Linked DNA regions of Homo sapiens: regions 1, 2, 4, 5, 6 and 7 are each linked to region 3. The links are contacts of gene promoters, found by promoter capture Hi-C in blood cells and fetal thymus (Javierre and others, 2016). All regions are on one chromosome and are shown on one strand. The core of a region is centred on a gene start or on the middle of the fragment in contact, and the rest is flanking DNA. Distances in the headings are between cores, read along the strand shown.

Region 1 (2,977 bases), core at 159-2,658, 840 kb after region 3:
ATTTATTAATATCCAGTTGTTAATTGTAAATGCTATTTATATGTTAAGACCATTAACCCTTTACCATACGTATTTCACTTTTGAATCTCATTTTATTATTTGTAGGTTAATTTTGATTACCGTTGGATTATATTTTACATATATGTTTTATATTTTATGGTTTAAATCGTGAACTTTTATCTTTATAGCTCCTTCTGTTGTGACTGTGATTGAAACGTTTTCAGGACAAAAGTATTTAATCATGATTAAAACAATTTTAAGATTATAAAACCAATCATGTGATTCTCTTCAAGTTTGTATGTGATTTTTTTTTTTTTTTTGACATGGAGTCTCATTCTGTTACCCAGGCTGAGTGCAGTGGCGCGATCTTGACTCACTGCAACCTCCACCTCCTGGGCTCAAGTGATTCTCCTGCCTCAGCCTCCCTAGTAGCTGAGACTACAGATATGGGCCACCATGCCCAGCTAATTTTTTATATTTTTGGTAGAGAAGGGGTTTCACCATGTTGCCCAGGCTGGTCTCAAACTCCTGACCTTAGATGATCTGCCCACCTCGGCCTCCCAAAGTGCTGGGTTTACAGGCATGAGCCACCGTGCTGCTGTACAGCGTTTTTATGTTTAACTCTTTAGTCTAACATGCTTTTACTTTGTGTATGGCATGAAGTAATGATTGCATCTTAATTTTTCCGAATAGTTAATGATTTAACCTGTTTTTGAATAGTTTATTCTTTTCCCACTGGGTTTAAAAACCATATTGAACAAATACAATAAACATTTTACTGTAGTTCTTCTATGTGTATTTCTGGGCTTTTGGCTCTGTTCCATTGCTCTAGTTCTTTTGGCACTAGTACCAAACTTTAAATTCACGTTATTTTTAGCCTATTTAGTACCTAATATCTCCCTTGTGGTTCTTTTCTAAAATTTTCTTTACCATTCTCAGTTTTTTATTCTTTAAAATAAACTTGAGGATTTTTGACCTGTTTGAAAAATTTATTTGGGATTTTAAGCAAAATTTGATTATATTTATAAATTAATTTGAGGGAGAATTAATATATTTACAATGTTAAGTTTTCCAGTACAGAAAAACTTTCCAATACAGAAATGTATCAAACTGTTTTTAATTTTCTCAGTAAAGTTACATTTTTAAATAGGTTATTCACTTTTTTTATTCCTAGAAATGTTATTGTTGTTGTTGCTATTATAAATAATACTATAACTAAGAATTTTTTTTTTTTTTTTTGAGATGGAGTCTCACTCTGTTGCCCAGGCTGGAGTGCAGTGGCGCGATCTCAGCTCACTGCAAGCTCCGCCTGACGGGTTCACGCCATTTTCCTGCCTCAGCCTCCCGAGTAGCTGGGACTACAGGCGCCCGCCACCATGCCCGGCTAATTTTTTGTATTTTTAGTAGAGACAGGGTTTCACCGTGTTAGCCAGGATAGTCTCGATCTCCTGACCTTGTGATCCACCCTCCTCGGCCTCCCAAAGTGCTGGGATTATGGGTGTGAGCCACCACGCCCGGCCAAGAATTATTTTCTATTATGTTTTCTAAGTTTTTGTGGGTTATATGGAAAATTTCATATATTTCTGTATAATTGTTCCGTGGCCAGAACAATTAATTTTGTATACTTATTTTGTATATTTATTTGTAACTGTTCACCTCACTTTTTAATTATTTAGAAGCAAATTTTAGTTTGTTCTATTGAGAAAATGAATATTACTCAATCTGCAGGTTGAATACTTTTGTCTCCATTTTTCTCATAAAATTCTTCTTTAGTTTCTTTTTCTTGCCTGGTTGCAGTGGCTCAAATGTCTAGAACAGTGTTAAATGGATGGTAGTGATAATGAGCATGCTTTTCTTGTTTCTGATTTTAACATTAATACTTCCAGTATTTTACCATTAAGTATGATGCCTATGTTTGATTTGAGATTTGAATTAACATGAGTATCATGTTAAGAATCAGTCTTTTAATTTTGTTTTATTAATTAAAAAATTGATATTGAATTTTATCAAATGATTTTTCAAGATTATTGTGGCAATCCAAAAGTTTTTCTCTGTTGCCCAGTCTGGAGTGCAGTGGTGTGATCATACCTTACTGCAGCTTTGATCCCCTAGGCTCAAGTGATCCTCCTGCCTCATCCTCCCAGGTTGGTAGGACTATAGGCATCTGCCATCACACTGGGCTATTTTTTTTTTTTTTTTTTTTTGTAGAGATGGAGTCTCGCTATGTTGCCCCTGCTGATCTCAAACTCCTGGCTTCAGGTGATCCTGCCACCTTGGCCTCCCAAAGCACTGGGGTTACAGGGGTGAGCCACTATTCCCAGCCTTATTTTTTACATCTTTAGGGCAACCTATGTTTACGTATGAAGTTAGTCTGTGGTTTTCTTTATTATGCTTTATCAGTTTTTTTTTTTAAGACAGGGTATTATGTTAGCTTTCTGTTACTTTTGTCCACTTGAACACTTCATATACCATGGGAGTTAATTCTGCTTGAAGCTCAGTTAGAACTTGATTGTGTAAGTAATCTGAACTAAGAGCTTTTTTTGGAAATAATTCCTTATTAACTTTTACATTTTTCCATGGTTACTGATCTGTTGTTTTTTGACTTCTTCCTGGGTCAGTTTGCTTCTAATTATTATTTTGGCTATGTCTCCCAATATTTGATATGTGGTATTCTCATCACTGAAACCTTCTAAGCATTCATTCTGTAATTGTGTTTTTAATTTATTCTCCAATCAATGATTTTTTTTTTTAAGAACTCTAAAGTTTCCCCAAGAGCGTGGGGTCTTTTTGACTTACACTTTTGTAATTAATGTATAGTTTTATTACAGTGTGATCACAGAATATGGCCAATTTCTTTTGGAAAGAAATTACTTACAATTTTTTTTTGGTAGCCTAATATAAAATCAAGTTTTGCAAACTTTTCTTATATTTTTTTCTTAATGGGCTAGACAGAAGATCCTTCTCTTTAATTATTCAT
Region 2 (3,277 bases), core at 347-2,846, 820 kb after region 3:
ACAGGGCTTCACCGTATTAGCCAGGATGGTCTCGATCTCCTGACCAGGATGGTCTCCAACTCCTGACCTCGTGATCTGCCCGCCTCAGCCTCCCAAAGTGCTGGGATTACAGGTGTGAGCCACCGTGCCCAGCTGAGCATTTTTTCATATACCTATTGGCCATTTGTATTTCTTCTTTTGAGAAATACCTCTTCAGGTCCTTTATCCATTTTAAAATTTGAATTATTTGTTTTATTGCTATTGAGTTGCTTTGAGTTCCTTACATATTTTGGATATTGGTCCCTTATCAGATATAATACATAGTTTTCAAATATTTTCTACCATCCCACAGGCTGTCTCTACAGTCTGTTGATTATTTGCTGTGCAGAAGCATTTTTGTCTGATGCAATCTCAACTCTCTGTGTTTACTTTTGTTGCCTGTGCTTTTGGAGTCATATCTAAGAAATCATTGCCGAGACCAATGACAAGAAGATATTCCCCTATCTTTTCTTGTAGTAGTTTTATAGTTTTCAGGTGTTAAGTTTAAGTTTTTAATCTATTTTGAGTTTAAGTTTTAATCTATTTTGAGTTCATTTTTGTATGTAACGTAAGGGTTCGATTTCATTTACTGCTGCTTTCAAAGTTTTTTCTTTGTCTTTTGAGAATTTGATTGTAATGTGTCTTGGTGAAGATCTCTGTATTTAATCTGCTTGGGGCTATTTGGGCTTCATAGATCTGGATGCTCATTTGCCTCTCCAGATTTGGGAAGTTTCTTATCATTATTTCTTTACCTAAGCATTCTGCTCTTTTTTCTTTCTTTGCTACTTTTGTGAATCCCCTAATGTATATATTGGATTGCTTGATATTGTTTCATAAATCCTATAGGCTTTTTTCATTCTTACTTCTTCTTTGTTGTTGTTGTTGTTTCTCTGGCTGAATATTTCAAATGATCTGTCTTTGAGCTCACTGATTCTTTTTTCTGCTTGATTGAGGCTACTGTTGAAGCTCTCTATGGAATTTTCAGTTCCATCACTATGTTCTTTAGATCCAGAATTTCTGCCTTGTTCTTTTTTATGGTTTCTATACCCTCATCGAATCCCCTATTTTGCTTTCATATTGTTTTCATGATTTGATTTAGTTATCTGTATTCTCTTATAGCTCACTGAGCTCTGTTAAGATGATTATTTTGAATTCTCTGACAGGCAGTTCATAGATCTCCATTTATTTAGGGTCAGTTACTTAATTTTGTTGTTTGGTGGTGGTGTTTCCCTTATTATTCACTATCTTTGTGGCTATATATTGATGTCTATGCATATGAAGAAGTAAGCACCTGTTCTACCTTTTACATATTGGCTTTGGAAAGCTCTCACCAGTCTATCTAGAGATTCTGGGTGGGTTGTTTGGTGGAATCTGAGGGCAGACTTGCTCCTGTATTCTCAGGCAAGTTGCCTTGGTGCCTGAGTCAGCAGGCAGGAAGGCCTGGAGCTTGCATCTCCTGGGGTGGGCCTCGATTCTGGGTTCATGGGAGTGAATCTGGACCCTGTGTTTGCAGGGGCTGGCCTGAAGTCTAGGTTCATGGGGGCCATCCTGTCCATGAGATGGACCTTGAGCCTGAGTTCATAGAGGCCCACTTTGTTCTAGGATGGGCCTGGAGCCTGAGTCCACACAAGGGCTAGCCTGGTTACTGGGACTTGCCTAAAGCCTGTGTCTGCAGGGGTTGGCCTAGAGGTTGAGCTGCTGTGGCAGACATGCCTCTGGGTGTAGAGCCTAGTGCTGTTGTATTGGTGTGGTGCTTGAATGGAGCTGCAGCCTGATGCTATAGAGGCCTGCTTGCAGCCTGGGGCCATAGGGGCTGGCCCAGCATTAGGGTAGCCCTGGATGCCCTTATCCACAGGTGCTAGCCTAGAGCCTGGGATCATGAGGGCTGCTCTGGCACTGGATTTCACTGAAGTGGGCCCGATGCTGTGGTCCATAGCAAAGTAGGGTGTTCAGTTCACTCTCCTTCCCCCACAGGGAAGGTATCTTTCTCTGTGCTGTGCACCCCTTGGGGGAGGGATGATATCAGTAATATGACACTCTTTCTCGCCCTCTTCAATGTGCCTTTTCTTATTTCTGTACTGGGGTAGGCATGGCAGTATTTGTGCCCCAAGGGCCAGAGACATCAAAATGGATTAAGAATATTTTAAAAAGCAATGAGTGTATTATAAAGATTTTGAGCTTCCAGCTGAAGACGGGCTTAACACACACATTATCTACCTTTGTTTCCTTTTGAAACCCCATTAAGATGAGATCAAAGGGTTTTTGATCTCAACTGGGATTCTTTAGTTCTTGAGAAGGTACATTCATGCATGGATAGTTGTTCAAATTGGTGTTTCTGTAAGGGGATATGTGCTGGAAAATACTATTGCACCATCTTGCTGAGGTCTGCTTTTGAGGTGGCTCACTTATATGGCTGGCATGTTGGTGCTGGCTGTTAGCTGAGACTTCAGTTCCTTTCTTCGTGGACTTCTCCATGGGTCTTATTGGATACCCTTATAAGGTGGCATCTGACTGGCTTCTTTCAGAGTGAGAGATTCAAGAAACCAAGATGAAAGATGCAAGGTTTTTTATGACCTTGCCTTGGAAGTCATACGTCATCACTTTTCATGTATCCTATTGGTCACTCAGGGTCAGTCCTGATTCAGCATGAGCAAGGACTACATGAGGATATGTAAGGATCTTGGGAGGCCATCTGCAGATTATCACATGTATATGCCAAAATAATGTTATAAAAGATGTAATTAAAATTGATCTTATTTTTCTCCTTTGTACTTTTCTATACTTTAAAAGTTTTTTATGATAAACATATATGATTTTTGAAATTACACACATACAAATCAATAAAAGTGGGGGTTTTTTTGGGTTAAACAAGAGAAATTTATTTTTCACTATCCTGGAGGCTGAAGCTCAAAATCAAGGTGTCAGCAGGTTTGGTTTCTCTTGAAGTTGTCTCTGTGGATTGAGATGGCTGTGTTTTTCACAGTCATCTTCTTCTTTTAAGTAAAAGTTATTTTTTTAAAAGCCATACATAGTCCAGAGAGGAGTGAGTCAATTCTTGTTACTTTGATTTAACACTGATGTCAAGTTCAAGATCAAGGTGTCAGCAGGTTTGGTTTCTTTTGAAGTTGTCTCTGTGGATTGAAATGGCTGTATTTTCACTGTCTTCTTCTTCTACTTTTTAAGTAAAGTTATTTTTTAAAAAGCCATACATAGTCCAGAGAGGAGTGAGTCAATTCCTGTTACTTTGATATGACACATC
Region 3 (3,327 bases), core at 9-2,508:
CAATCACAGTCAGGTCCGGCTTCCTTTGGTATCTGATGGCAATGGCTGAAATGAGCTGAGCTGAGTTCCTCTCCCTTCACATTCTGGAGTGGCTCTTTACTGAGTAAGAAAGTGAATTAACATTTATTTAGCTTCTTCCTTGGAGCTGGGTACCGGGTCAGCCTCTTTTCAGAGAGCTTTTGCTCTTGTGGTCAGAGTTACCCTGCAGTTTTCTCCTGGCTCTTACATGACATATCTCAGTACAGGTGTCAAGCCAATGGGACAAAGCCATAGTCCTGTTTTCCTTCCCTCCTTCCCTCCCTCCCTCCCTTCCTTCCTTCTTCCCTCCCTCCCTCCCTCTTTCCTATTGCCCAGGCTGGAGTGCAGTGGCACCATCTCAGCTCACTGAAACCTCCGCCTCCCGGGTTCAAGCAATTCCCCCGCCTCACCGTCCCGAGTAGCTGGGTTTACAGGGGTGCCCCACTACGTCCGGCTAATTTTTGTATTTTTAGTAGAGACGGGTTTCACCATATTGGCCAGGCTGGTCTCGAACTCCTGACCTCAGGTGATCCATCCGCTTCATCCTCCCAAAGTGCTGAGATTACAGGCGTGAGCTACCGCGCCCGCCCTCTAACTGTTTCTTTGGAGTGCTGCTAGGAAGATTCAAAGAAGTGCAAATAAGGTACCAGCGGAGGCTGGTTTGTCTCCTTGCAATTTCTTTGTGATCACCCCTGGGATCACTCTTCTACAGCGTTCCGACAGTGTTCCAAAAACTTCCCTGCACCAGCGGCAGGGGCAGATTTCCCACCCGGCCATGATTCATGTAGAGCAGTGTCAAAACCAGATCCTTTCCTTACACGCTCATTCGCCGAAAGACCCATGCTATGCTGACGGGGTTCCAACCTGGGCTTCACCGACTCCACGTCAGAGGGTCTGTGATTCCCTGAGAGGGTACCCTTAGGCTGAGAGCAAGGGCCCACCTGCACTCTGCGCGAAGGACTGTGGTTTTCATCGGGTTGTCGAGAGCGTTCTAACCCAAAATGCTTTAAGAATCACAACTCTAGCCCTTCTAATCAAACTGCTTTGGCCAAGACGTCCGTTTTGAGTTGCATTTGAACCCTAGCCCTCGGTGGGAGGCACACTCACTTCCACGTTCACAGTTCTTGGAAGCGGTCCCACTGGGGGCGGGGCTGAGCGCGACCGCGCCCTCAACTCCCCCTATTGCCCGCCCCGGGGTGGGGCATAACCACCCAACAGGCTCCTTACTCAAGCTCGGGTTCTTCTCCTAGGCGGAAGCCAGACCAGAGAGCGTGCGTGTTTTTCCCAGGGTGCCCCGCGCTGCTGTTATGGCCGCCTCCTTGAGGTAGTATCCGCACATGGAATTCTAGGGCCGCAGGTGTATTTACGGTAACTGTCGCCACTAGATTTCAGCGCCTTTGGACTCTCCTGTTTTCACTTTCTTTTGTTGACTCCCGTGTGGCCCTCGTGGGAGCCTGTTTTGGCTGCAGCGGTGTCTGGGGTGATGTGGACCCCGGAGCTGGCAATTCTGAGGGGATTCCCCACTGAGGCTGAGCGGCAGCAATGGAAACAGGAGGGGGTCGTCGGTTCAGGTGAGAGGCGCACCTACCGGGCCTTAGGCTATCGTGGGAACTGTGAGGAAAAGGGATGGCAGCGACTGATTCTCATCCCTCCCTTCATTTTTCCCTAACACAGTCTAGCTGATTCCTTGAGGCTTTGGGTCGTTTAGTCTTTGACATGGTGGGCGTGGTCCTCACTTTCTTTGCGCAAAACTTCTTACCGCCCAGGTTCAGTAATAATGACAATGGCAATGTCAGTTATTTTTCTAAGCCCTTAACATGTACTCAGTCATTTAATGCTTATAGTAGATACTTAAGGTAGATTCAATTTTTAATCCCATTTTGCGGTGAAGATCTGTAAATACAGTTGGGTTAAGTAATTTTATTTTATCTATTTATTTATTTATTTATTTATTTATTTATTTATTTATTGAGACGGAGTTTTGCTTTTTGCCCAGGCTGGAGTGCAATGGCGCGATCTCGGCTCGCTGCAACCTCCGCCTCCCGGGTTCAAGTGATTCTCCTGCCTCAGCCTCCAGGGTAGCTGGGATTACAGGCATGCGCCACCACGCCCGGCTAATTTTGTATTTTTAGTAGAGTCGAGGTTTCACCATGTTGGCCTAGCTGGTCTGGAACTCCTGACCTCAGATGATTCGCCTGCCTCAGCCTCCCAAAGTGCTGGGATTACAGGCCTGAGCCACCGCGCCCGGGTCTGGTTAAGTAATTTATTTAAGGTCACACTGTTGGTAAGCAGAGGAGCTAAAATGAGGCAGCAAAGTTGTTTTTTTGGGGGGATGGAGTCTCCCTCTTGTTGCTCTGGCTGGAGTGCACTGGTGCCATCTCGGCTCACTGCAACCTCCGCTTCCCCGGTTCAAGCGATTCTCCTGCTTCAGCCTCCAAAGTAGCTGGGACTACAGGCATGCACCACCATGCCCGGCTAATTTTGTGTTTTTAGTAGAGACGGCTTTCATCATGTTGGTCAGGCTGGTCTGGAACTCCTGACCTCAGGTGATCCACCCGCCTCGGCCTCCCAAAGTGCTGGGATTACAGCCATGAGCCACCATGCACGGCCTAGGCGGCAATGATTTATTTTTTTTATTTTTTTGAGACAGAGTCTCGCTCTGTCGCCTAGGCTGGAGTGCAGTGGCGCGATCTCGGCTCACTGCAAGCTCCACCTCCCGGGTTCACGCCATTCTCCTGCCTCAGCCTCCCGAGTAGCTGGGACTAAAGGCGCCTGCCACCACGACCAGCTAATTTTTTTTTTTGTATTTTTAGTAGAGACGGGGTTTCACCGTGTTAGCCAGGATGGTCTCGATCTCCTGACGTCGTGATCCACCCACCTCGGCCTCCCAAAGTGCTGGGATTACAGGCATGAGCCACCGCGCCCAGCCTAGGAGGCAAAGATTAATTCTTGTGAGCAATGAATATTTACCAGAGAGATAAAGAGTTAAAAGGCACATGCACTGGCACATCTGGTTGTGGGATTTAGGCTGGACCCAAAAGAGTAATAATGAACAGTGTAGTGTGTAAGTACTCTGTGTGTATGTGTGTGTGTGTGGGCACTTGTGTGACACAGTAGGTGCTTCCAGTGACAGGAAGTTTGAACTTTGGTGGCCTGGAAAACTTTCCTAGAAGAAGTTAGACTTGAGCTGATTTTGGATTAAAGGGTAAGACTAACAAGTGGAGAAGAGTTCAACAGGCGATATCACAAGTGCAAAGTGTGGAGGCAGGAATACGCATGGGACATTAGGGAAACAATGAGTAAACCAGC
Region 4 (2,931 bases), core at 31-2,530, 750 kb after region 3:
GCAGAGAAGCCAGGTACAAAAAGCAGGGACAGTACGTACATAAGAGGAAAAATACTAGATGCTAAATTGTGTGTTTTTAAAAAATAACCATGTTTGGGCAGGTGCATTGGAAGGAAAGAAAGCAATGGGCAAGGAAGCCACATTCCAGTTATGATCCTATTGTAGTCATTGAAAGCAGAAGAAAAGCAAACATGGTTTGCCGCAAGGTGAGAATAGTTAAAATAAAATTTTTAAAAACCCTGATAGAGGGGAAAACTTACTCCTTCATTTCTTGCTAAACTGCTGAAGACAGAGCTCTGGAGGAGTGTCCTGGAACAAGCTGCCATTCCCAAACCCCAAATCCCTGGATTGCGGGTGAGTCAGCAAGTATTTGGAACGCCGACCAGGGAGGACCAGTGGACCTTGCTAGACTGCACTGTAGCATGAACTCTCTGTTTTGAAAGCTGATTGAAGCTACTGCCTCAGTGTCCTCACCAGCCATTAGAGAACAGTTCAAGGCGAGAGAAGTTTGATTAATGGGTTACTCGTTGGTGACATGAGCACTTCTGAAATTTTACTTCTTGTACAGCTTGAGCCTTGGAGTGTCAGTTGTATTCATGGCACTTTTCCTAAGAGCTATACTGCATGGAAGTGCTAGGGAAAGTATTTGGCCACTCTCTGTTATAAAAAATACTCTGAATAGAAAATAAATTTCATTATGATAATAATCTTACTGATGTCCTATTAAAATCTTTCTAGTTTGAGCGAAAGGAGAGAAATTCAGGCATGCATGTAAACAATCTGATCCTAAAAAGCAACACTTATTTTTAGTTAACAAGTGTATCAGTCTGTTTTTACACTGCTATAAAGATACTACCTGAGATGGGTAATTTATAAAGAACAGTTCTTCATGGCTGGGGAGGCCTCAGGAGACTTATAATTGTGGCAGAAGGCAAAGCCAGACACTTCTTACCTGGCGACAGGACAGAAGGAGAGAAAGAGCGAGGAAGTGCCACACTTGAAACCATCAACTCTCCTGAGAACTCCCTCACTATCATGAGAACAGCGTGGGGGAAACTGCCCCATGATCCAGTCACCTCCCACCAGGTCGGGATTACAATTCAAGATGAGATTTGGGTGGGGACACAAAGTCAAACCATATCAACAAGCAATCATATTTATCTCAAAAGTAAAAGTCTTAGCAGTTTTACCTTTCTCCTGTGAAATCAGAGATTATGAATAGGCATTCCGTTTTCTAGAATCGCCCATTCAGTATGATACTAAATGATTTGGTCTAGTGAACATTTTACTTTCATATATATATATATGTGTGTGTGTGTGTGTGTGTGTGTGTGTGTGTGTGTTTTGTTTGTTTGTTTGTTTTGGAGACAGAGTCTCGCTCTGTTGCCCAGGCTGGAGTGCACTGGCACGATCTCGGCTCACTGAAACTTCTGCCTCCTGGGTTCAAGCGATTCACCTGCCACAGCCTCCCGAGTAGCTGGGACTACAGGCTCACACCACCACACCTGGCTAATATTTTTTATTATTATTTTAGTAGAAATGGGGTTTCACCATGTTGCCCAGGCTGGTTTCAAACTCCTGAGCTCAGGCAATCCACCCGCCTCAGCCTCCCAAAGTGCTAGGATTACAGGCGTGAGTCACCACGCCCAGCATACTTTCACATCTTTTAAATAAAATTTGCTCTTCTTTTTTTCCTTTTGAAAATAGGGCTAGTTGAAGCATACTCTAAGAAGCATGAACTGTGATGAGTCTGACTTTGAGAAAATCACTGTGCATAATTGCTTAAGCACTGTTCTAAGTTTGAGGTTTTGAATTCAACTAACGTTTGAATTTCTTTTGACCTCTTCTTAACGAACCTAATAATACAACTATGGCTAGAACAAAGCTGCTGACTGCCCATGTCTGTTAAACAGTGACCTCATGGCCAGAGCAGGCAAGCCGGGCAGAGGAGGGATGAAGTAAATTTTATTCTCCTTTTATGCCGCAGACAGATTGTGCCCCTTATGATTGGGAGAAAAACATCTAGAAAGTTCTTAGAATGACCAGGTTCTTGTATTTACAAATCTGCAGGGAGCAGAAGCTAGAAAGTAATTGTTCTGCTAAGCATCAGTAGCCACTACCTTAAGAAAGAAGCAGATTACAAAACATTAGCTCATTGGGAGGGCTTCTGACACAACAAAGCCTTCTTTATGCTTCCTTCTGGGCTTCAAGTCTCAGTGGCAGGCTGAGCTGTTTTGAGCAGTTGTGCTGATTGTACACTGCTCATTTCAAGAAAATACTAGGTTGGTGCAAAAGTAATTTCAGTTTTTGCCATTGCTTTTTTTTTTTTTTTTTTTTTTTCTTTTTCCAAGACAGAGTCTCATTCTGTTGCCCAGGCTGGAGTGCAGTGGTGCAATCTTGGCTCACTGCAAGCTCCGCCTCCCAGGTTCAAGCAATTCTCCTGCCTCAGCCTCCTGAGGAGCTGGGACTACAGGTGCCTGCCACCATGCCCAGCTAATTTTTTGTATTTTTATTAGAGAGAGGGTTTTACCTTGTTAGCCAGGATGGTCTCAATCTCCTGACGTTGTGATCCACCCACCTCGGCCTCCCAAAGTGCTGGGATTCATAGGCATGAGCCACCGTGCCCGGCCCTGCCATTACTTTTAATGCATTCATGTGGTAATCTGTGAGCCCCTTCCAAAGAAATCACTGCCAGAGGCAGAAGTTGCTAGGACTGTATCTGATAGTGAACAGATCCAGAGGGGAAGGAAAGAGGAGGGTCATCTCAGATTGAAGTAAATGGCAGAATACAAAGAAATCATAAAACAGAATCAGGATTTCAAGATAGTCCATCTTTTACTTTGCAGTGATGTCTTACTTCCTGTTATTGAATGAAATACATTTTCATGACTAGTCATTGACTATGTTTAGTGTTATTTTCATATTACATTG
Region 5 (3,294 bases), core at 579-3,078, 860 kb after region 3:
TAACTATATCAGGATGAACCAGGGATGATTCCCTTGGGTTGGTGACATTTAAGCTGGGTATAAAAGGATAAAAAGTCATTGTTCAAGAAGAAAAAGACTATATTTGAAACAGTGCATTCCAGGACTAATGTGTAACTTGATAGAGCTGAATCATAGATTACATGTTGGAAGAGGGACGGGAGAAAAGGAGCAAAGATAAGGTGGTTCTGGGTGGTTAACAGTAGTGTTTGCCCTTCTGAAGCATGTCGGTATTTTTGAGAACCGATTTATATATGGCAAATTTCAACCATATATAAAAATAGACAAAATAAATGATAATTAACCCCCATTTATTATCTAACTTTAACAATTTTCAATTCATGGTCATTCTTATTTAATTTATATATCCCTACCGATGTTCTCCCCTTCCCATATTAGCTTTGAAGTAAATCCCAGATATTTCATCATTCCATCCGTAAATATTTTAGTATGTGTTTCTAAAAGATAAGTTCTCTTAAAAAGTTCACAACGTCATTCAGACATGCAAAATAATTAATAATAATTCTTAACTATTATTGTAGTTTGTCAAGTAGAGGGATGACATGAATACATTTGCATTCTGGAAAAAAATTTCTGAAGGCAATAAGGACGACAGATCAGAGAAAGAAAAATACCAAATACCAAAAGAAGACTTCAAAGATAGGTTTGAACAAAGACAATGATAATAGAGAGGGTGGAAGAATTTTCAAAATGTTTAAAAGGTAAAGTTGATAGTTCTTGAGATTAATTGTATTTGGGTGTGCAGGAAAGGAGGGAGTTAAAGAAGTTTTGGAGGTTTTAATTTGAATAATCAGCATATGAATATGCCATTAACCTATATAGGGAAAGGATTCCTTGAAAAGCAGTTAGCCTGGTTCAGCATTATACAGAGACTACAGGAAACAAATCAAAAAATATCTTCCTATTACCCTCAAACAAAAGTTTGAGATTTCCACCTGTAGTCCTAGCTACTTGGAAGGCTGAGGCAGGAGGATTGCTGGAGTCCAGAAGTTTGAAGCCAGTTTGGGCAACATAGTGAGACCTCATCTCCAGAAAACAACAAAACTTTGAGACTCAGAGCATTTGGAATAATTCTGATTGCTGCACCTTAAGAAAGCCATTAATGCCAGCCATGGTGGCTCATGCTTGTAATTCTAGCGCTTTGAGAGGCTGAAGCAGGAGGATCACTTGAGCTCGGGAATTCTGAGACCAGCCTGGGCAACATAGTTGCAGACAGCAGTACACTTCATTCCTAAACATTTCATCACGTATATATGTATATTACCAACTAGAGTTAGTTATTGCAGAATTTATATTTCACACAAGAGAGATTAAACTTATACATTTATTTTCTCAATGGGAAAAGCCGTGATTCAAGAAAGATTAACACAATTCATGGCTGATTCTTACTCGATTATTTATGAAAGCAAGAAACTGAGAACCTCTTGATTTTCAAAAGTTGTTGCCATACAGAGCAGCCACATCCTACTACAAAACAGCCTTTGAGTAACTATCAAGTATTGTCCTGGCAAAGCACGTTTCTCTCAATAAGTGTTAATTGAATTTGAATGTAAAGAAACTGACACCTAGAAATGCAAGCTTTTTGCCAGTAACTGACAGAGCTGGTACTAGAACAAATTACTTCTAATAGTTTCTCACTGAGCATCACTCCTTACCTCTAACAACTCTGAATAGTAATAATGGAACACAGAAGATGCTTTATTAGTAAAAAGGTAATGCTTTCTATATCAAGTCATTGTGAGATTGCTCAAGGCTCAATGGGACCAAGTAGCTGGGCCGTAGGAAAGGAGGTAAAATGCTCTCACAAAAAAAGAACTCTCCATACACAATGGAAAAAAAATGCCTGTGTTCATATTTATCCTCTGACTTCCTCCAGAAGAGGATTAAAGCAGCTGATGACAAAAAGCAAAAATAAAACACAACTGAAAATGATTAACACAGGAATAAAACAAGGGCCAAAATCCACCAGTTAGTCAGGCGGGGAATACATTTGGACCTAGAAAGCTTTAAAATGTTCTCAATTATGTCAAATTCTGACATGTTAAATCTTGCTGATTGGTTCAAGAATTAAAAATCAAGTTGAGATGATGTCTAAAAGACATGTTCATTCAAATGTTTTTTGTTGATGAAGATATCGAGTATTCATTTGGAAACTGAAAAACTCAGTCAAATAGCCAGGCATTTGCCTACACAAGAAACAGACATTCTGATACTAGAAAAGATTTTAGGGGTTTGACCGATTTTTTTTTTTTCTGGTTTCCATTTTGATGTTATGGCATCAGTCTATATCAGTGGTTCTCAACTGAGAGTGATTTTGCCTTCCGAAGGACATTTGGCAATGTCTGGGGACATTTTTGGTAGTCTCTACTGGGAGTGGCAGTGGAGTATTACTGGCATCTAGTTAGTAGAGACCAACGATGCTGCTAAACATCCCAAAATGCTCACGACAGCCCTGCATGACAATCAATTATCCAACCAAATATGTCAATAGTACCAAGGTTGAGAAATCCTGATCTATGTGAAACAATTAAAAATCTCACGCAAACATGCCTTCAAAGACACTTTAGATGAGTTACATGCAACATTTTTGCTTGTCTGCTGCTGAGCAGTAAGTGATGATGGCCTAATACACTTGCAGAAATACTGCTGCATCGGCGTCAGGGTGGAGATGAGATGTCAAATGGCCAGTCCTTCAGAATGAAAAGCCAAGTTGAATGGTTCACAACACAGGCTGACAGCACTCTTTGGTGTCCAAAAGATCAAATGTTGGCAGGCAAGGATACTGATATTTAGTCAGCAGAAAATATTCAAAGCAATGAGGGACACATTGTTGTTTCTTTTGTGGGTTTTATTTTTATTTTTTATTTTTTTGGCAAGATCTGGCTCTATTGCCCAGGCTGGAGTGCAGTGGTGGAATCTCAGCTCACTGTGACCTCTCTGCCTCCCAAGTTGCTGGGACTATAGGCAGGCACCACCACACCCAACTAATTTTTGTATCATTTGTAGAGAAGGGGGTTTCACCATGTTGGCCAGACTGGTCTTGAACTTGTGAGCTCAAGCACTCCTCCTGCCTCAGCCTCCCCATGTGCTGGGATTACAGGTGTGAGCCACTGCTCCCAGTTGACAGATTGTTGATGAGGACAGAACAAGGGATCTTTAGGTCATAAGTCATGGGACAGTTGATCCTGGGACTTGGGAAGTTCATTTCTCTGTTTCTGGCTTTTTTCATCTTCAAAAACTCAGGAAAAGAGAACT
Region 6 (3,091 bases), core at 19-2,518, 800 kb after region 3:
TCTTCATGTTCTGGAAGATATTTGCCTGTCAGATAGGTGGCTAAAAAGATGACTTTGAAAGCCCTTTCTAATCCTGAGGATGTGAGTTTACACTGCCAAAGTAACTTCTTGATGTACTCAATATTACTTGGATGTGAAATGTAGTTTGCTCCCCACATAGAACATAATTTTTAGCCCCAAATTTGCCTGTAAAAAGTGAAGTTTATAGTGGTTTTGTCTTGTGTATTTTTTATATGACATCATGCTTTAGAAATATAAACAAATGGAAAATCAAAAATTGGATCAGAGGGTAACACCGTAATGGATTTGACTTTTAACTTCTCTAGAGGACTGATCTATTAAATGTTTTCTTTCTCCTCAGTATTGTTCTATAAAGATGTCAACAGTGACACACTGGTTATCACAGCACTTTGTATGAATACAGCCAGAATTTGTGGCATTCCAAAATGTCTTGAGAGGCTTGGAAAGGAAGGTCTGAGGTCACAGAAGCTTAGCACTGAAAGGACCTCAAAGATAGAGCATGAGGACATTTAGGTCCCTGAGTTGCTCAAGCTTGTGTAACGGTAGAGAGATGCCCTGATCTTTCTCAAGGCAGTGCACTTCCCACTGGTTTGAAAGAAGAAAACTTAAGTTGTTTTGTCTATTTTACCTTTGGGTAGCACTGTCCCTAACTGTCCTATATTAACCACCTGGTGTATGATGTCTACTTTCTTTTTTGTTTGTTTGCTTGTTTTTTTGAGACGGAGTCTCACTCTGTCGCTCAGGCTGGAGTGCAGTGGCGCGATCTCAGCTCACTGCAAGCTCCGCCTCCCGGGTTCACACCATTCTCCTGCCTCAGCCTCCCAGGTAGCTGGGACTACAGGTGCCCATCACCATGCCCAGCTAATTTTTTGTATTTTTAGTAGAGATGGGGTTCCACTGTGTTAGCCAGGATGGTCTGTATGTCTACTTTCTTCTTTCTAGGTCAGTCATCCATTGTGTCAGACAGAAAACAGGGGGCCCTCACAATCCCACTCTTGGTAGTCACAGCCTTGATCCCTCACCTGATCACAGGAAGGACTTGTGACTTGCTTCTAGCCAGCTGAATGCAGCAAAGGTGACTTGAGTGTCCAGGATCACATGTACATGATTACCTTACATAAGACTGCAAATCATCTTGATAGGAGCTCCTCTCCTATAGCTGGCTTAGCCAGACATGGATTAGCTGGGTCACTGCCTCATGGTCTTAAAAGGCTGCAAGAAGGTATTAGCTGGAACTTTGGTCATCTGAGGCTCGACTGGGGAATGATGTGCTTCCAAGCTCATGTGGTTATTGGCAACGTTCAGTTCCTTGCAGGCTGTCAAACTAAAGGGCTTCAGTTTCTTGGTGGCTGTTGGAGGGAAGCTACCCTCAGTTCTTTACCAAGTGGTCTTCTTCATAGGCAGCTGGCTTCTTCAGTGGCAGCAACGAAGAGAGATTTTCTTGGTCATTCTGAATACTCAGTTGTTTTTAACTTGCTTCATCTAACCAGTGTGAATTTGCACCCTACAATTTGTTAGAATTATAAAGCTGATGGTTGTGTTCACCTTGCCAGTCTTAATATAAACTCAATTGCATAATTATGTGTTTCAGGGGAGTATGGAGTATATTGACCCCATTGTGAGTTCGAACTAATCTATTGTATAAGTAAGGAACCTGTATAGACTATTAATTCAGTAACCAACCTACTGCTTGGCTTTTTACTCGACTACAGTGACTGCCAAAATGAAAAGTTTAATTGTTGTTGGATAAATCAGTTCCATTGCCCTGCTCTCTCCCCTCGTTTCTTCCTTCCTTCCTTACAAATACTGCACACAATCAGCTAATATTTAGGTGCGCGTGCTGTCGGCGCCCATGGTAGTTCCTTTTGCCTTCAGATGGGTGCCATGAGCTGTCTCTACCACGGTCTGTTTTGTTTCCTGTGTATTTTACTTCCAGTGATGGTTTTGCTTCTTCTTTGCCTCCAAAGCTTCACAAACAACCTTAGCGCTGAGTCCAAAGGCATTTCCCAAAGGAATATACAACTAGCAGAAACAGCAAAATGAGAGTCTGTGTTTCAGAATTAGTAGGAAAACTTTTACCATAACACCAATTAGAATTTCCTTTAGTTATTATGACATCAGATTTTAGCTTCAACAAAACTGAACTAGCTCTAGATTTTATTATCGGCGAGTCTCAAGTTGTCTTTTTTGTTGTTGTTGTTACACAAAAACTCATGCTGTTTTATTTTAGGTGCATGGCAGAGTGACAGAATACCAACAGAAACCAAAGTCTAGTGCAGGGAAGGTAGTCTGGTTTAGATTTTCCAACTGAACTTTACCAAGGCTGGGCTTCTCTTGGGAGATATTGTGCACTGTTTTATTTGTGCCAAGAGTTTTCTAATTTGCAAGGTAACTTTAACATTATGTTTGCTGAGAATCAGTCTAAATAAACTACTGATGAACACAAATCAACTTCAATTAAATTAATGGAAAAGCTTTTTTTCTATCCCACTAAGTCTTCTAGCTCTTTCAAAGAGTTGGTAACTCTTATATTTTATTTTTAAGATGGAGAAGTCCTTCCTAACTTTCAACCACCTTTTCATTATTCCTGCTGTGATTTAGAGAGCCATCCTTAACCTGTGTTCTTTTGAGTGGTTATTCTAGCAGTTTTGACTTATTTTCATTAGTATGATGCAACAATTCAAGTCAAAGGAACACAGTTCATAGCCCACAATTTGGTCATTATCTAGAGCTTCTGCACTTTGGGGATAAAGATAAGCTATTATTAAAAATACCTATGGGACATACAGGCTCAGATACATAAGTGCATTCATCTCAGTTAAGCAATAATATGCAGACTCTTTTTTGCGTTTTCTTTGAGAACTTTTGCTTAGGTTTTCTCTATATTTTATATATTGAAAACTTTTTAAGGGACTTCAATTTTAAAAACCGTATTTTCCTCCACTGACAGAACCAAAATAATTGAAGAATGTCACACATTATCTTTCCTAACAAGGCCTTTGACTTTTTCCCACTATGCCTTTTGAGAGAGTCTGTCATTAATTTTAGATTAAGAATACAGAGCCTTGTT
Region 7 (3,401 bases), core at 666-3,165, 780 kb after region 3:
GAGTTCTTTGTATATTTTCCATATATCTTTTACCAGATACATGTTTTACCAAGATTTTCTCCCAGTCTGTGGCTTCTCTTTTCATTCTCTTAAACCCATTGCTTTTTATAAATTTAGGATCTGTTTAAGTTAAAAACAAAACCCTGTTGGGATTTTTATTAGAATTATATTGATTCTATAGATAGTTTGGGGAAAAATAACATCTTTACAATATTGAGTCTTCTGGTCCATGACATTGATTTAGATTTCACTTAATATTTGTCATAAATATTTATAATTTTCTTCATAGAGGTTTTTACTAATATTTTAGTAGATTTATTCTAAGTATTATATTTTGTTGCTGTTGGAAATGTTATATTTTTAAAGATTTGTGTTTGATATTTGTTTCTGGTGTATTGAAATACAATTGACTTTTAGATACTGATCACAACCTTGCTAAATGCTCTTCTCAATTCAAATAATTTATCCTAAGATTATTTGGGGATTCTGTGAATGGCAATTTTGTTTCTTCCTTTCCAGTCTTCATATTTTAAATTTTCATGCCTATTAAACTAGTTAAAACTTACAGGGCAATATTGAATTACAGAGTGATGATAGCAGGTATACTGATTTTAAAGAAAATCCTTTTACTGTTGCTCTATTAAATATAATGCATGCTTAAATGTTTTTATGTATACCTTTTCTAGGGTAAAGAATGTTCCTTTCATCCCTAATTTGCTAATGGGCTTAATGTGAATGTAAGTGTTGAGCTTTATTGAGGGTTTTTTTTTTTTTTTTTTGCAGCTAAAGAAAAAATTCCTTTTGCCTTTGTTACCCACAGAAACCAATTATAACTCAAGAATAAACCTCTGCCTTTGAAACATGCCTGAACTGGCCTCTGCTTGACAGCACTACCCAGTGGGTCATCCCAGAAACCCAGGCCTCTCAGGATTAGCAAAAATTTTCATTGATTTATTGAGATAATAAGATATTTTATTATTCCCCATTTAGCCAGGAAATTAAGTTAGCCAACTACCGGAAATTATAAATTGATTTATCTTAAGCAGTATGTAACTCCAAGTGCATACCTTGGTGCAAAATTAAAACCATGAGTTAAACATATTTCCAGTGGAGTTAGCCTAGGAAGCATTCAGTTCAGAGACACTGGACAGACAAATGCAGTATCCTAGCATATAGGAAGAGCAAAGTTATTTCATTTATTCTGGCAGCTTAGCCACCCCACACCACATGCAATGTGCCTACATTGAAGACAAAACGCTCAACAACCTGGAGAGGGGATGAGGGAGGGAGAAGTAGAAAACAGGCAGACAATAGCAATAGTGAGATTCTCTAGTGGCAGAGTATAGCAAGTGGATGTTGTCCAGTGAGCCAATGGAAGCACTGCTGTAGTGTAAGAGTCCAATTGTATTAGAATCCATTAACTTTTCTGTGTTTATCATACACTAATAGTAAAATATTTACTTTTACTGTGTGTATTAGCTTGAAATAGGCATCCTTCACATTGTTTTCTTGCTGGATGCTTTGTCCCAAGTTTTTACTGACGCCTTTGGTTTCAGGTACTTTGGCTATTGTATAGAAAATTGTTGGCCAGGTGCAGTGGCTCACGCCTGTAATCCCAGCACTTTGGGAGGCCGAGGTGGGTGGATCACCTGAAGTTGGGAGTTCAAGACCAGCCTGGCCAGCCTGCCCAACATGGTGAAACCCCACCTCTACCAAAAATACAAAAATTAGCCAGGTATGGTGGCGGGGGCCTGTAATCCCAGCTACTAGGGAGGCTGAGGCAGAAGAATTGCTTGAACCTGGGAGGCGAAGGTTGCATGGAGCCGAGATCATGCCATTGCACTTCAGCCTGGGTGACAAGAGCAAAACTCCACCTCAAAAAAAAAAAAAAAAAAAAAAGAATATTGTTCATATACCGTTTTGCTAGTTCATTTCTATTAGTGTTTATGAAAGTTTATTCAAATTTATTTCAAGTTATTTACTTTTGCTTTCCATTATTTGTTGGAAGATTGTATTGATATCTCTATAGTATTCTATGTAGGATATAGGATTTCATTTACCAATAAATTCATTTTGTTTTATAGTCTACTCAGTGCCAAAAGTCACAGATACTGAAATCTTTCTCTCTCTCCTTATCTCCTTCTCTCCCTCTCTCCCTCTCTCCCTCTCTCCCTCTGTCCCTCTCTCCCTTCCCTTCCCTTCCATTCCCTTTCTTTTTCAGAGTCTCACTCTGTCACCCAGGCTGGAGTGCATTGGTGCAATCTCGGCTCACTGCAACCTCCACCTCCCGGGTTCAAGCGATTCTCCTGCCTCAGTATCCCAAGTAGCTGGGATTACAGGTGTGCGCCACCACGTCCAGCTAATTTTTGTTATTTTAGTAGAGACAGGGTTTTGCCATGTTGGCCAGGCTGGTCTCCAACTCCTGACCTCAGGTGATCCACCCGCCTCAACCTCCCAAAGTGCTAGGGTTACAGGTGTGAGCCACCACACCCGACCGAAATATTTATTTTTAACCACATGATATTATTTATTTGTAGAATTAGTGGAACATTGCTACATAACCATAACCAGTGGTTTTCATCTGGACACCTGTATCTGTAGAATCACTTAAAAAACTGTTTAAAGGCAGAGGTGGGTGGATCACGAGGTCAGGAGATCGAGACCATCCTAGCTAATACCGTGAAACTCCATCTCTACTAAAAATACAAAAAATTAGCTGGGTGTGGTGGCAGGCACCTGTAGTCGCAGCTACTCAGGAGGCTGAGGCAGGAGAATGGCGTGAACCTGGGTGGCGGAGCTTGCAGTGAGCAGAGATCGCACCACTGCGCTCCAGCCTGGGCGACAGAGTGAGACTCCGCCTCAAAAAACAAAAAACAATGTTTAAAACAAGTGGGAAGAAAACTACTTTGATTTTTTTTCCCCCAGAATTTCCTTGTAAAATTGGCAAGCCTTATATTTCAGTAAATAAGTAAATATAGATATAGATGTAGACTAAATATAGATATTGACCTTATACTGGATGCCAACTGTGTGCCTTCATCTTCACATTCTTCAGAATTTTATGTAGTTTGCATAGCATTCTCTGGAATTTATTTTTTTGTTTTGTTTTGTTTTGGTCTGGGCCAGTCCCTGGGAACCAGCTGCTTAAACCACTGGGTACAAGCAAAACCCTGTGGTCTCTGTGCACTTTCCCATCGGCACTGCTTCGATGGACATAAACCTGCAGGAGAAAGTAAACAGAGATCTGGATGGTGTTTGTTTTTAGTGTCAAGGAATGACGTCACTGCCTGAGACCATGACTTTGAGCAAATTGGTGGATGGGCACAGAAAAATCAAACCCTGGTTAAGAGGCCACATCATTAGCACACAGAGAACAGTATATGTGCATTTCAAAAGTAGAA

What was found. The method cuts DNA at HindIII sites, captures the fragments that hold promoters and counts their contacts. A CHiCAGO score of 5 or more calls a contact.
Region 1: a contact is called between a fragment that was not itself captured here and the fragment with the promoter of TTC27 in region 3, in 2 of 17 cell types (naive B cells and M2 macrophages). The highest score is 7.0, in naive B cells.
Region 2: a contact is called between a fragment that was not itself captured here and the fragment with the promoter of TTC27 in region 3, in 4 of 17 cell types (M1 macrophages, M0 macrophages, M2 macrophages and 1 more). The highest score is 8.1, in M1 macrophages.
Region 4: a contact is called between a fragment that was not itself captured here and the fragment with the promoter of TTC27 in region 3, in 5 of 17 cell types (M2 macrophages, M1 macrophages, erythroblasts and 2 more). The highest score is 16.9, in M2 macrophages.
Region 5: a contact is called between a fragment that was not itself captured here and the fragment with the promoter of TTC27 in region 3, in 1 of 17 cell types (total B cells). The highest score is 8.4, in total B cells.
Region 6: a fragment that was not itself captured here is called in contact with the fragment with the promoter of TTC27 in region 3 in 3 of 17 cell types (M0 macrophages, M2 macrophages and M1 macrophages); the score reaches 8.7 in M0 macrophages.
Region 7: a contact is called between a fragment that was not itself captured here and the fragment with the promoter of TTC27 in region 3, in 3 of 17 cell types (M2 macrophages, M0 macrophages and M1 macrophages). The highest score is 8.4, in M2 macrophages.

What each region holds. Positions count from the first base shown.
Region 1 is chr2:33,469,159-33,472,135 of GRCh38, forward strand. It overlaps a transcript of RASGRP3 not described here. Among named protein-coding and RNA genes, the nearest start is that of RASGRP3, 6.0 kb to the right of the region's middle. The HindIII fragment of the contact is 3,306 bases long and covers 1-2,977 here.
Region 2 is chr2:33,451,030-33,454,306 of GRCh38, forward strand. It overlaps a transcript of RASGRP3 not described here. Among named protein-coding and RNA genes, the nearest start is that of RASGRP3, 24 kb to the right of the region's middle. The HindIII fragment of the contact is 5,053 bases long and covers 1-3,277 here.
Region 3 is chr2:32,626,792-32,630,118 of GRCh38, forward strand. It overlaps TTC27 (tetratricopeptide repeat domain 27), which reads left to right and starts at 1,259. Exons shown (of 20, transcript NM_017735.5): 1 at 1,259-1,589. The coding sequence starts at 1,502. RefSeq lists enhancers at 459-1,120, 839-898, 1,121-1,780, 1,309-1,368 and a silencer at 1,619-1,748. The HindIII fragment of the contact is 6,273 bases long and covers 1-3,327 here.
Region 4 is chr2:33,376,880-33,379,810 of GRCh38, forward strand. The region is part of intron 31 of LTBP1 (latent transforming growth factor beta binding protein 1); the gene reads left to right. Among named protein-coding and RNA genes, the nearest start is that of MIR4430, 40 kb to the right of the region's middle. The HindIII fragment of the contact is 3,551 bases long and covers 1-2,931 here.
Region 5 is chr2:33,486,676-33,489,969 of GRCh38, forward strand. All of the region lies in intron 1 of RASGRP3 (RAS guanyl releasing protein 3), which reads left to right. Among named protein-coding and RNA genes, the nearest start is that of RASGRP3, 12 kb to the left of the region's middle. RefSeq lists an enhancer at 1,925-1,974. The HindIII fragment of the contact is 426 bases long and covers 1,616-2,041 here.
Region 6 is chr2:33,430,762-33,433,852 of GRCh38, forward strand. No RefSeq gene overlaps it. Among named protein-coding and RNA genes, the nearest start is that of MIR4430, 14 kb to the left of the region's middle. The HindIII fragment of the contact is 1,436 bases long and covers 551-1,986 here.
Region 7 is chr2:33,408,746-33,412,146 of GRCh38, forward strand. No RefSeq gene overlaps it. Among named protein-coding and RNA genes, the nearest start is that of MIR4430, 8.1 kb to the right of the region's middle. The HindIII fragment of the contact is 4,741 bases long and covers 1-3,401 here.